Regions from separate parts of the Homo sapiens genome. Here region 2 is linked to region 1. The links are contacts of gene promoters, found by promoter capture Hi-C in human tissues and cell types (Jung and others, 2019). All regions are on one chromosome and are shown on one strand. The core of a region is centred on a gene start or on the middle of the fragment in contact, and the rest is flanking DNA. Distances in the headings are between cores, read along the strand shown.

Region 1 (5,484 bases), core at 1,238-3,737:
TGTTATATCAGCACCATCAATTTTTAATTCGGGGTTCCAAAATTATCTTTTTCTCCATTGGAAAGGAATACGTTTGTTTCCACGTAGGAAACTACTTCCACTTAACACACAGAAGGTAACTTCATTGGTAGGTATGCTGCCTGTATGCAAGGATCTGCAGTTACTCATAACTGGCTGTGTTTTTAAACAGAATAATTTTTGTCAAATATTTTGATACAAAACAATGAAGCCTGAAGTTAAAATAAGAAATTCTGGGCTCAAGTGCAGGGCAACTGGACACCCTTATGAGATGAGCCTTTGTGCCCTTCCTGTAAGTGTGGATTAGATTATCCACCACCTAGATTTAAGAAAGGATTAAATGAAAGAATATATGTGAAAGTACTGTGTTGACTGTATTAAAAAGAACTGGAAACCCATAAAGGACCGCTATAATTGTGTAATTGTTGCGCCAGGTTATTTTGTCAATACATTTTTAATCAGCACCTAAAATATTTCATGTCACTTCATCCAGCAGAGACATTGAGATGTGGCAAAATGTTTAAAAGGACAACACTATAGGTGAAAAAAAAACAGAGCACAACAGTAGTCAATTCAAAAAAAATTCTTTTAACAATTTTATTCCATTTCCTTGCCATTTTCAGAGCCCTTTCTTTTGGTGTTTTGTAACAATATAAAAAACGATCTGGCTTTTCAAAATATACTCCTTTTCCTTTCTATATGCAAATGATATGAAACACTGGCAAGTTGTCCTTAAAAGTCAGCCCACCTTCATGGCCCAGATAAAGTGGGCAATAATTCCTCTCTAGGTCCTCCGCACATTAGGTGCCAGTCTCTCAAGTCTCTTCCTAGACAATTTCTAGCAGCCAGGAAACATAATTTTTGACCTTGAAGACTTTAGCATTCCAAATCTAAGAATACAATCAGGTGTGTTTTCTTTTGGCAAACTGTGAGCTTACACACACCCCCAGAGTGGCATTTGAATGCTGTGCACAGTCTTGACTGTGTTCGAGGTTAGAGAACTAAAGACAAGATTCTTTCTCTCTTGTAATGAAGAAACAAAAACCACATAGCCTATATTCCACAAAAGAATACCAGCATAATATATCCTTTTTTAAAGATGTAATTCATTAGATGTGTGTAGAGAATAAAAGTGTAAATATAGGCTGGGAACGGTGGCTCACGTCTATAATCCCAGCATTTTGGGAGGCCGAGACAGGTGGATCACCTGAGGTCAGGAATTCGAGACCAGCCTGGGCAACATGGTGAAACCCCCGTCTCTACTAAAAATACAAAAAAAATCATCCGGGCGTGGTGGCACGCGCCTGTAATCCCAGCTACTCGGGAGGCTGAGGCAGGAAGATCGCTTGAACCGGGGAGGAAGAGGTTGCAGTGAGCCGAGATCGCGCCATTGTACTCCAGCCTGGTCAACAAGAGCGAAACTCCGTTTCAAAAAAAAAAAAAAAAAGTGTAAATATAGTACTAGCTTCATTGATATGTCTTGCTGCTTCTGGGACTTTAGAGAAGCGTATAAGAAGAAAGTGTGTGTGCCTTTACGTAAGGGAGCATATGAGAGAGAGAGAGAGAGTGTGTGTGTGTGTGTGTGTGTGTGTGTGTGTGTGTGTGTGTGTCAGAGAGAATGTTCATGGCAGGAGGAGGGGCGGTGAATATATGAAGGGAAGTTGGGAAAACCCTTCCCTTTTTGTGCACTCCCAGGGCAGCAGCCGCAACCCCAGAATGAGGAGAGGACTTAAGAGCAGGCACAAGGTTCGCTGCCATGACTGATGTGAAGCGACCTGACGCACAAGCGGAGACTTTTCTCCTTGGCAGCCAACAACCTGCAGCAGGCAAGGCGGGCGGGGGAGGAAACCCCGAGGAGGCGCTCCCGGCCGCCTCTTTGCTGAGATAGCAGGAGCAGCAGCCTGAGGAGCCACGAGCTCAGCGTCACTGAGCTAGTGCGGGTGCAGGGGCGCTCAGGCAGGCGCACAGGCCGGGAGCCGCTTCTGCCGCTCAGGCGGCCGCGCTGCAGAAAGCCGCGCCGCGCTGCCCGAGCGCCCGGGGCTGGCCCGCGAGCGGGAGGAGCCGGCAGCCGCGCTCCGCCCCGCGCTGAGATTCGTGCCACCTGCCTCGAACACCACGGAGGCGAGAGGAACCCAGAGAGCTCGGCCTCTCGTCCCGTTCTCGAAAAGCAGCCTATCGTGACGGAGCCGGGAGAAGGCTAGCGTTTCAATCCTGTGCAGGACTGGGATTTTTCTTCTCATAATTTGGGGGAGCCGGAGTAGAGGTCAGAGGGACAGGCGAGGATCTCAAAAAGAGACCGAGGGTTGTGAACATGGTTACCCCCTCCTATCATTGGAAAATCTCCTTGACATTTTTCACACTTTGAAGCAGCTGCAGCTGGTGTCGTCGGAAAAGGGGGTGGGAAAAAAGAGAGGGGGCGGGGAGAGCGGTGAGACACAGCCAAGAGCCATGAGCGGCGCCTCCTCGCCTGCCAATCCTGGCACCTGTGCGCCGAGCCACTGCACCGAGGAGGACCCTACTCCGGGTGAACACCGGGCTTGAAGCCACGGACACCCAGCCCCAGTGCAGCGGGTTCTCGCCGGCGGGACCTGCAGCCGCCCACTCGGGCCACCGCCACCGCCTCCTGCAGTTGCGGAGCGCTCAGCCCCTCCGAGACGCCCGCTGCGCCCTGGCCCCTGGGGATCCTCGCCCTGCACAGGCGCGGCAACGGGCAGGGGTTGTTACGGAGTTGGGTGCAGGATTCGCCTTTCCTGCTTGTCTCTTCTCCGCCCAGGATTTATTGTCTGTGGAGCCTTCTGGGGGCGGGGAGGGAGCTGCGCCTCCGCCACCGCCGCCGCCGCCGCCGCTGCTGCTGCGGTCGCTAGCGCGGCGCGCTGGGCAGGCTGAGGCTGGGGAGTGGACGCGCTCCTGCCTCCCCCGCCGGCGCTTCGGGCTTCCCCTCAGCCGCTTCCCGCGGGAACCTCTCCAGCCGTCCACCTGAAGGGCACTGGCATCATGGTCTAACGTGGCACCTTCCTGGATTCCCCTCTATCTCCTGTTCTTCCTACCTTCTACTCCTTCCCTCCTCTTCTCCTCCGAAGACCCTGGCGCCCACTCCACTGCGGACCCCTGAACACTTAAGGAATAACCCTTGGCAGCTGCACGACTACGCTCTCCGAAACCTCATGGGCAGTTTCTCCCGCCGGCGATGTGAGTAAGGCACGCTCGCTCCGTGGCGGAGGGTGCTGCGGGGGCCCGGCCGCGGCGACCGTAGGCGCGCGAGGTGTGGGACCCCAGAGGCCGGCCGGGGGCGGGGGTGGCAGGGCGGGAGGCTTCGGCGCTCGCGGGGAGCTGCTTGTGCGGTGGCCGAGGGAGGCGGCGAAGATGTGGTAGGTTGCAGAGCATTTGGAAATGGGGTGCTAACTGGGCGGGTGCATGGGAGCACCGAGTAGCTTGAGCTGGCAAGAGACCTTAAAGGGTTACATACTGCGAAAAGGAAAGGTAAATGTTGGGCGCTGGTGCTGGGACCATTGGTTCCGCTGAAATTAGGTTTAGCTCCTCGTTATTATCTTGGGTATCTCCAGTCAGCTTTTTTCCCAGAGGTGTCTGAGGGATGAAGCGCGTGTTTGATCGTGACACACACACACACACACTCACACACACTTGTGGCAGGACGCACTTGTCTCTTTATCTTGGAAGGTGTTGTATCAATGTCTCGATGTCTGTTTGAAAAAATACAATTAGAAGATTTTTATGTGATTGGGATTGAAGGGAAAGGGTGGGGTTTGGGGGGATGGAGGGGACGAAGGAACATGAAAGACTGGAGGACGGAAAGAAGTGGGGGAGCGTGTTCCCTGGGAGTCAGGGAGAACCTTGCCTCCCTCCCTGTCAGCTAGACAACTCCTGCCCACACATCTCCTTTGTGTGGCACGAGAAGCTGGTGAACCTGCCTATTCCCAATCCAGCGCTGGGTCCCCTTGAGGATCTTGCGTCCTCCTCTCCGAGTTATTAAGGATGCAGGACGTGTTTCGGATTCGACGTGGAAAGAGGGAGGGAAGCACATTAGCATTAAGGTAATCATGGCACCCTGGCTCGTGGACTATTAGATTGGCTACCAGTGGTCTCTAATCTTACTGTTTGCAGAGTCAAGAATGGGGGCGGGGGTTGGGGGACTGTATAGATTGCCTTTTAAAATAGTGTGACTTCATAATAACGGAGATGGCTGAAAGATTGCTTCCTTACACTACTTCTCGGCCATCAGGGCTGAATAAAGGACCCGCCTCCGCCCTCTACTCCGGCTCTTCTCTGGCTGTCTCTTCCCCATCAAGTCATAAAGCGAGCGGGTTGGGCGAGAGGGCACAGCTCGAGGCAGAGAAGAGACGGGGTCACTTTCACAACTCCCAGGAATCGGCTTCAGAAAGGAACCATCTGCGACTCCCACGTTCCTTTCGAAGTTCTCCTTCAAAAGGAATTACAAAAAAAAAAAAAAAAAAAAAAGCGATGGGGGTGGGGATCGGTAAGACACAGGGGTCCTCCCCCTGCTCTTTTCAATTACTTTCCCAATACTCTTTCAACACATCGAATTTACCTGCAGTGGTAACTGGGTCAGCAGGTAAATAGATTTGTATCTGTATATGTCGAAATGTGGCTCTCCTGGTGGATGAAAAGCAATTTTTTGTGAGCATATTCTAACCTAGGCGAAATTTCTAAGCACAATAGAGATTTTTATAGCGTGGGCGAGAAGAGTGCATTCCAGCGAAAGCAGGACACGTGATCCCTCCAACGGGTGAGATACAGTATTAGGAACTCGATTTTCTTTGTTCCAGCCTGAGCCTATGAGATGTTCAGCATCCTGGTTGCTTAAGTCCTCCTATAGAAGGAAAATAATAATAATAATAATAATAAAGTTGATCGGAGGCGAAATAGAGGGAAAATAAGCACAGGTAGACATGCGTGAACGGTTTGAAAGCTTCGCCTCTGCCTTTTTTTACCGCCCACCCTTCACCCCCACCCCTTGCTCCAGCCAGCCCCCTATTTTAAAATGAGGCATTTCCTCTGGGAGACGGTGGAAAAGTTCTCCAGCCCCTGCACACGTGGGTTCTCCAGCACTTCAGAACCTGCTGTGATTCGCAACAGATTACACCACCTTCCCAGTCCAAGTGTCACGCCTCCGTCCAGGCTTCCTTGAATTGGCTTCCAGGAAGGACTCTAAGGGAACTACCACGAGGTGTTTTTTGTTTGTTTGTTGTTTTTTGTTTGTTTGTTTTTACAAAAGACAGTAAAGCAATGAAGTCTTTACTTTTTAGAAATCATTGATTGCACAGGGGGAAAAATGAGCAAATAGGGATGTAGGAATGATTTTATGTTTCCTTAAGAGTCATATGGCTAAAGTATATTGGGGGTGTGTTTAGTGATTGAGTTTGGACTTCTGAGGTGTCTCAGGCCTGTGGAAAATGTCCTGAGGTCAGAATATTTATTAATTTAGTG
Region 2 (5,385 bases), core at 1,675-4,174, 980 kb before region 1:
ATGGAACATATCTCAAAATAATAAGAGCTATGTATGACACACCTAGAGCCAATATCATACCGAAAGGACAAAAGCTGGAAGCATTTCCTTTGAAAACCACCACAAGACAAGGATGCCCTCTCTTTCCACTCCTATTCAATATAGTATTGGAAGTTCTGGCCAGGGCAATCAGGCAAGAGAAAGAAATAAAGAGTATTCAAATAGGAAGAGAGGAAGTCAAATTGCCTCTGCTTGCAGATGACTTGATTATATATTTAGAAAATCCCATTGTCTCAGCTCGAAATCTCCTTAAGCTGATAAGCAACTTCAGCAAAGTCTCAGGATACAAAATTAATGTGCAAAAATCACAAGCATCCCTATACACCAATAATAGACAGAGAGCCAAATCGTGAGTTAACTGCCATTCACAATTGCTTCAGAGAGAATAAAATACCTAAGAATACAACTTACAAGGGATGTGAAGGACCTCTTCAAGGAGAACTACAAACTGCTGCTCAAGGAAATAAGAGAGGACACAAACAAATGGAAAAATATTCCATGCTCATGGATAGGAAGAACCAATATCGTGAAAATGGCTGTACTGCCCAAAGTAATTTATAGATTCAATGCTACTCCCATCAAGCTACCATTGACTTTCCTCACAGAATTAGACAAAACTACTTTACATTTCATATGGAGCCAAAAAACAGCCCATATAGCCAAGACAGTCCTAAGCAAAAAGAACAAAGCTGGAGGCAGCATGCTATCTGACTTCAAACTATACTACAAGGCTACAGTAACCAAAACAGCATGGTACTGGTACCGAAACAGGTATATTGACCAATGGAACAGAACAGAGGCCTCAGAAATAACACCACACGTCTACAACCATCTTTTCTTTGACAAACCTGACAAAAACAAGTAACGGGGAAAGGTGTCTCTATTTAATAAATGGTGCTGGGAAAAATGGCTAGCCATATGGAGAAAACTGAAACTGGATCCCTTCCTTACACCTTAGACAAAAATGAACTCAAGATGGATTAAAGACTTAAACCTAAGACCTAAAACCATAAAAACCCTACAAGAAAACCTAGGCGATACAATTGAGGACATGGGCATGGGCAAAGACTTCATGACTAAAACACCAAAAACAATGGCACAAAAGCCAAAATTGACAAATGGGATATAATTAAACTAAAGACCTCTGCACAGCAAAAGAAACTATCAGCAGAGCGAACAGACAACCTACAGAATGGGAGAAAATTTTTGCAATCTATCCATATGACAAAGAGCTAATATCCAGAATCTACAAAGAACTTGAACAAATTTACAAGAAAAAAACAACCCATCAAAAAGTGGGCAAAGGATATGAACAGACACTTCTCAAAAGAAGACATTTATGTGGCCAATAAATATATGAGGAAAAGCTTATCATCACTGGTCATTAGAGAAATGCAAATCAAAACCACAATGAGATACCATCTCACGCCAGTTAGAATGTCGATCATTAAAAAGTCAGGAAAGAACAGATGCTGGAGAGGATGTGGAGAAACAGGAACGCTTTTACACTGTTGGTGAGAGTGTAAATTAGTTCAACCATTGTGGAAGACAGTGTGGCGATTCCTCAAGGATCTAGAACAAGAAATACCATTTGGCCCAGCAATCCCATTACTGGGTATATACCCAAAGGTTTATAAATCATGCTGCTATAAAGACACATGCACACATATGTTTACTGTGGCACTGTTCACAATAGCAAAGACTTGGAACCAACCCAAATGTCCATCAATGATAGATTGGATAAAGAAAATGTGGCACATATACACCATGGAATACTATGCAGCCATAAAAAAGATGAGTTTATGTCCTTTGCAAGGACATAGATGAAGCTAGAAACCATCATTCTCGGCAAACTAATACAAGAACAGAAAACCAAACACCACGTGTTCTCACTCATAAGTGAGAGTTGAACAATGAGAACACATGGACACAGAGAGGGGAACATCACACACTGGGGCCTGTCAGGGGGTGGAGGGCTAGGGGAGGGATAGTATTAGGAGAAACACCTAATGCAGATGACGGGTTGATAGGTGCAGCAAACCACCATGGCACATGTATACCTATGTAACAAACCTGCACATTTTGCACATGTATCTCAGAATTTAAAGTATAATAATAATAAAAAAAACCATTAAAAATAAATGAATACTACAATTTGAAAAAAAAAAGAAATCTTTTCTGTACCTGATTTCTGGATACCGCACCTGTTTTTCTACACTTCGTGTCTCCCTGTCACCAAGAGGTCAAGTATAAAGCCTTTATCATGGTATTCAATGCCCTTTATGATACTGCTGTTTTGATTTGAGGCATTATATGCCCCATTGTTTTTCAGCTTCCCTTTCTCCTGCTCTTTATCAAGTACCCTTTTTCTCAACACAGCTAACTACATTTAATTCCCTCAGTATGCCCTTCAAGGAGACATTTGGAAATGATTTTCTTCCTCTTTGTCTTTAAATGTATACTTCCAGGTTCAGATTAATTTTGTGAAGCCCTCTAGGACTATTTCTGAGAAGAATTAATCACTCCTTTCTCTTCCTTCCCTTGGTACTTTAGTTTTTGACCTTTCTACTAAATTCTTCATGGGGAGATTATATCATGTTTATAATTAGCCCAATGATAGTTGAATGAATTTTGAATCATCTTAAATCCTTTTTCGGCACCTCCTGGATATAAATTTTATGGAAATAAAAATAATGTTCCTATGATTTCTTTTCCAGGTTTTCAGTTATTCAGAATATCACTGTTTCCATTTATTGTGTATAGTCAAAACACTCTTGAAGTAGCTTTCTCCCAACAATCTGGATAAACTTCCATCAACAAAGCTGGAGATGTGCTGAGGAGGGCACTGTGGTGAAATGAGGAGAAGAGCCTCTTTCTATTGTGCTCCTACTATTTTCTAGGACAGAATAAACTTTCTGCTGCCAACAGCCTAATGTAATAGCTGGCATAAAGTTTGATAGTGTCTTTTCAAAACCAGCATAACAAAATCCTGGACGGGAAGCACTCTAGCAGCTGCTACAAATGCCCTTAAATTGCCACCCATGCATAACTGTTAGAGTTGTGCTGACGTGTGCTGGCCATGGTTTGTCCCTTTCTAGACTACAGATGAACAGAAGCTCCTTCCATAATTTTGGGATTTTTTTTATCACCTACATAATTCCTGTGTCTCAGCTAGAAAGCCACAGTAGACCAACTTAGCACCAAAATTCATGCTAAGTATGTGAATTTTATCCCATGCTTAACCAGGTTTTTTATTTATCATATATGTCCTGAACCCAGAGGAGATATTTTCTGATGTTTGTTAATCATTCTCCAGCAACAAATTGCTAAGTAATTTCGAAAGATGTAATGCACTACCTAGAGTATGCAATGTTGATCTTTGGACAAGGAAATATGTATGGACAGGGAGATTAATGCACCATCCATACAGGAAATGATGTGAAAACAAGTTGTCAGCCAGTGGCAATGATCTTTAAGAATTAAGTGGTTTTAAAACTTGGGCATTAACTTCAGGCTCTAAGGTAACAGTACAGATACATCTAAATCTCTGGATGTTGTGCATTCCTGAAACATCACTGATAAAGCATATTTCTTTGTAATTCATATGTTTGTTCTAAATTCCAGTTTTAGAAATATAGACCTCAGCAGCCTACATAAGCTCTGTAGAAAGAGAGGGAGAGAGATGTTAAGAAAAAAAAAGAAAGATAAGTATAGCAATATACCAAAACAAACAAACAAAAAAGTTAAAGATGACAGGCTCCAATCAGCAAACATAGAAGCATATATGACCTTTATTTGCTCTATTTGTCAACGGTTGAATATGGCAGTGGGAGCATGGATATTTAGCAGGGGCAGCCAGCAGAATTCTGGTTTTAGTTCTGGCATTAGAATTCTCTGCTGCTTAAATTTTGCATATTAAAATTTTTAGAAAAAATATTTGATTTTATGGTATCTTAGAAGTCTTCTAGTCTCACAGGAAATTTAGATGATAAGTATTTTTGTTTCGTAGGTCATCAATGGTTTCTAACAAGTTAAAAGTAATAAAGAGAAAAACATTGCTATTCTTTGAGTTAAACCTTTGGGATACTATTTTGTAAAACGGAAGGTATTCTTGTTTCTGTATTACAATTTTTTATCTTAATTTGTCAGAAAAATTTGTGAAAGATTGAAATGGGGGAGAAAAGACTATTAGGTATTCCGTCCAGTGTTTTTATTGTCTTTAAGCTATTTCACAACTCTATAAGGTTGATAATACAGATAGAAATGCAAATGATTTCTTGTCTGTGGAAATACAAATTATATCCCCTGGAAATGCAGCTGATACTTTCTCTATGAGTATTAACTGGGTTTTCATCATTCAGCAAATGTATTTCACCATCCCTTATGTGCTACATATGTGTAGTTCTTTCAGTTACCCTTTTGCCATTTGTAACATCTTATTGGTTCCCTCATTATTTAATGAATTAAATAAAATCCTTGGCACATGTATTCATTTTGTATTGTGGTTAATTTTACTTTTTGAAAATGAACTTTGTTTTTTATGTAGTTTTACCAGAAATAGTTTAATATTGAGTGCCAGATTGGTTATCTTTTTCCTTATCTCCACAAGTATTCACTGGGTACATACTATATTCCAGATACTTTAAGACACACTGGGTATACAAAACATAACCTGAACCTGCCTGTAGCATCTATATTTTAAAATTATGGTCTATAATGGCTCTCACATAGGCCAATAAGACCGTACAGGGTAATGAAAAGAATAAAATAATAAAGCCTGTGGGTTTACATAGACTTGGGTTCAAATTCATGTTCTACCTCTTTCCTACAGTGTGACTTTTGGCAAGTTACTTAACTGCTCTGAATTTCATTTTCCTCATTCACAAAATGGGTTATACTAAGACCAACCAGGCAGTATTGTTGTGGAATAAGATAAGATTTTGTATGTGACTTGCTTTGTACTTAGATGGTGCCTGGTTCTTGGCAGGTACTCACTGAATGTTGATTCCTGTTCTGTACCCCATGCTTTCAACCTTCTTTTTAATTTCTTTTGGCCACTGCTCCCTGTATGACAAGTTATTATTGCTGTTTCTATTTTACTGATACTGGAATGACTAGTCTAATCTCAATAAACAAGAATCTGCAGTGCTCAAAATCTCGATTCAGTACCCAGCTCAATGAGCCATGCAGGCCTAAAACAAGAAAGAAGTTCACAATCAGGAAAACCTCCAAATGCTAAAAACCACACTTACGCTTATGGTAATATTATTGTAATTTAAAAAGTGTGATTATAAGAATGACTCCATTGCAGAGTACATAATGTTAGTCTACCTGAACAAGTACAGA

The links. The method cuts DNA at HindIII sites, captures the fragments that hold promoters and counts their contacts. A contact is called where the count stands out against the background at its distance.
Region 2: a contact is called between a fragment that was not itself captured here and the fragment with the promoter of LRRC7 in region 1, in 1 of the 25 tissues and cell types used here (dorsolateral prefrontal cortex).

Annotation. Positions count from the first base shown.
Region 1 is chr1:69,565,435-69,570,918 of GRCh38, forward strand. LRRC7 (leucine rich repeat containing 7) reads left to right here and starts at 2,488. Exons shown (of 27, transcript NM_001370785.2): 1 at 2,488-3,207. The coding sequence starts at 3,206. LOC105378789 (a long non-coding RNA gene) reads left to right here. Exons shown (of 12, transcript XR_947488.3): 12 at 1-416. RefSeq lists a silencer at 1,912-2,141. The HindIII fragment of the contact is 6,759 bases long and covers 1-5,447 here.
Region 2 is chr1:68,582,487-68,587,871 of GRCh38, forward strand. No RefSeq gene overlaps it. Among named protein-coding and RNA genes, the nearest start is that of DEPDC1, 88 kb to the left of the region's middle. The HindIII fragment of the contact is 4,640 bases long and covers 605-5,244 here.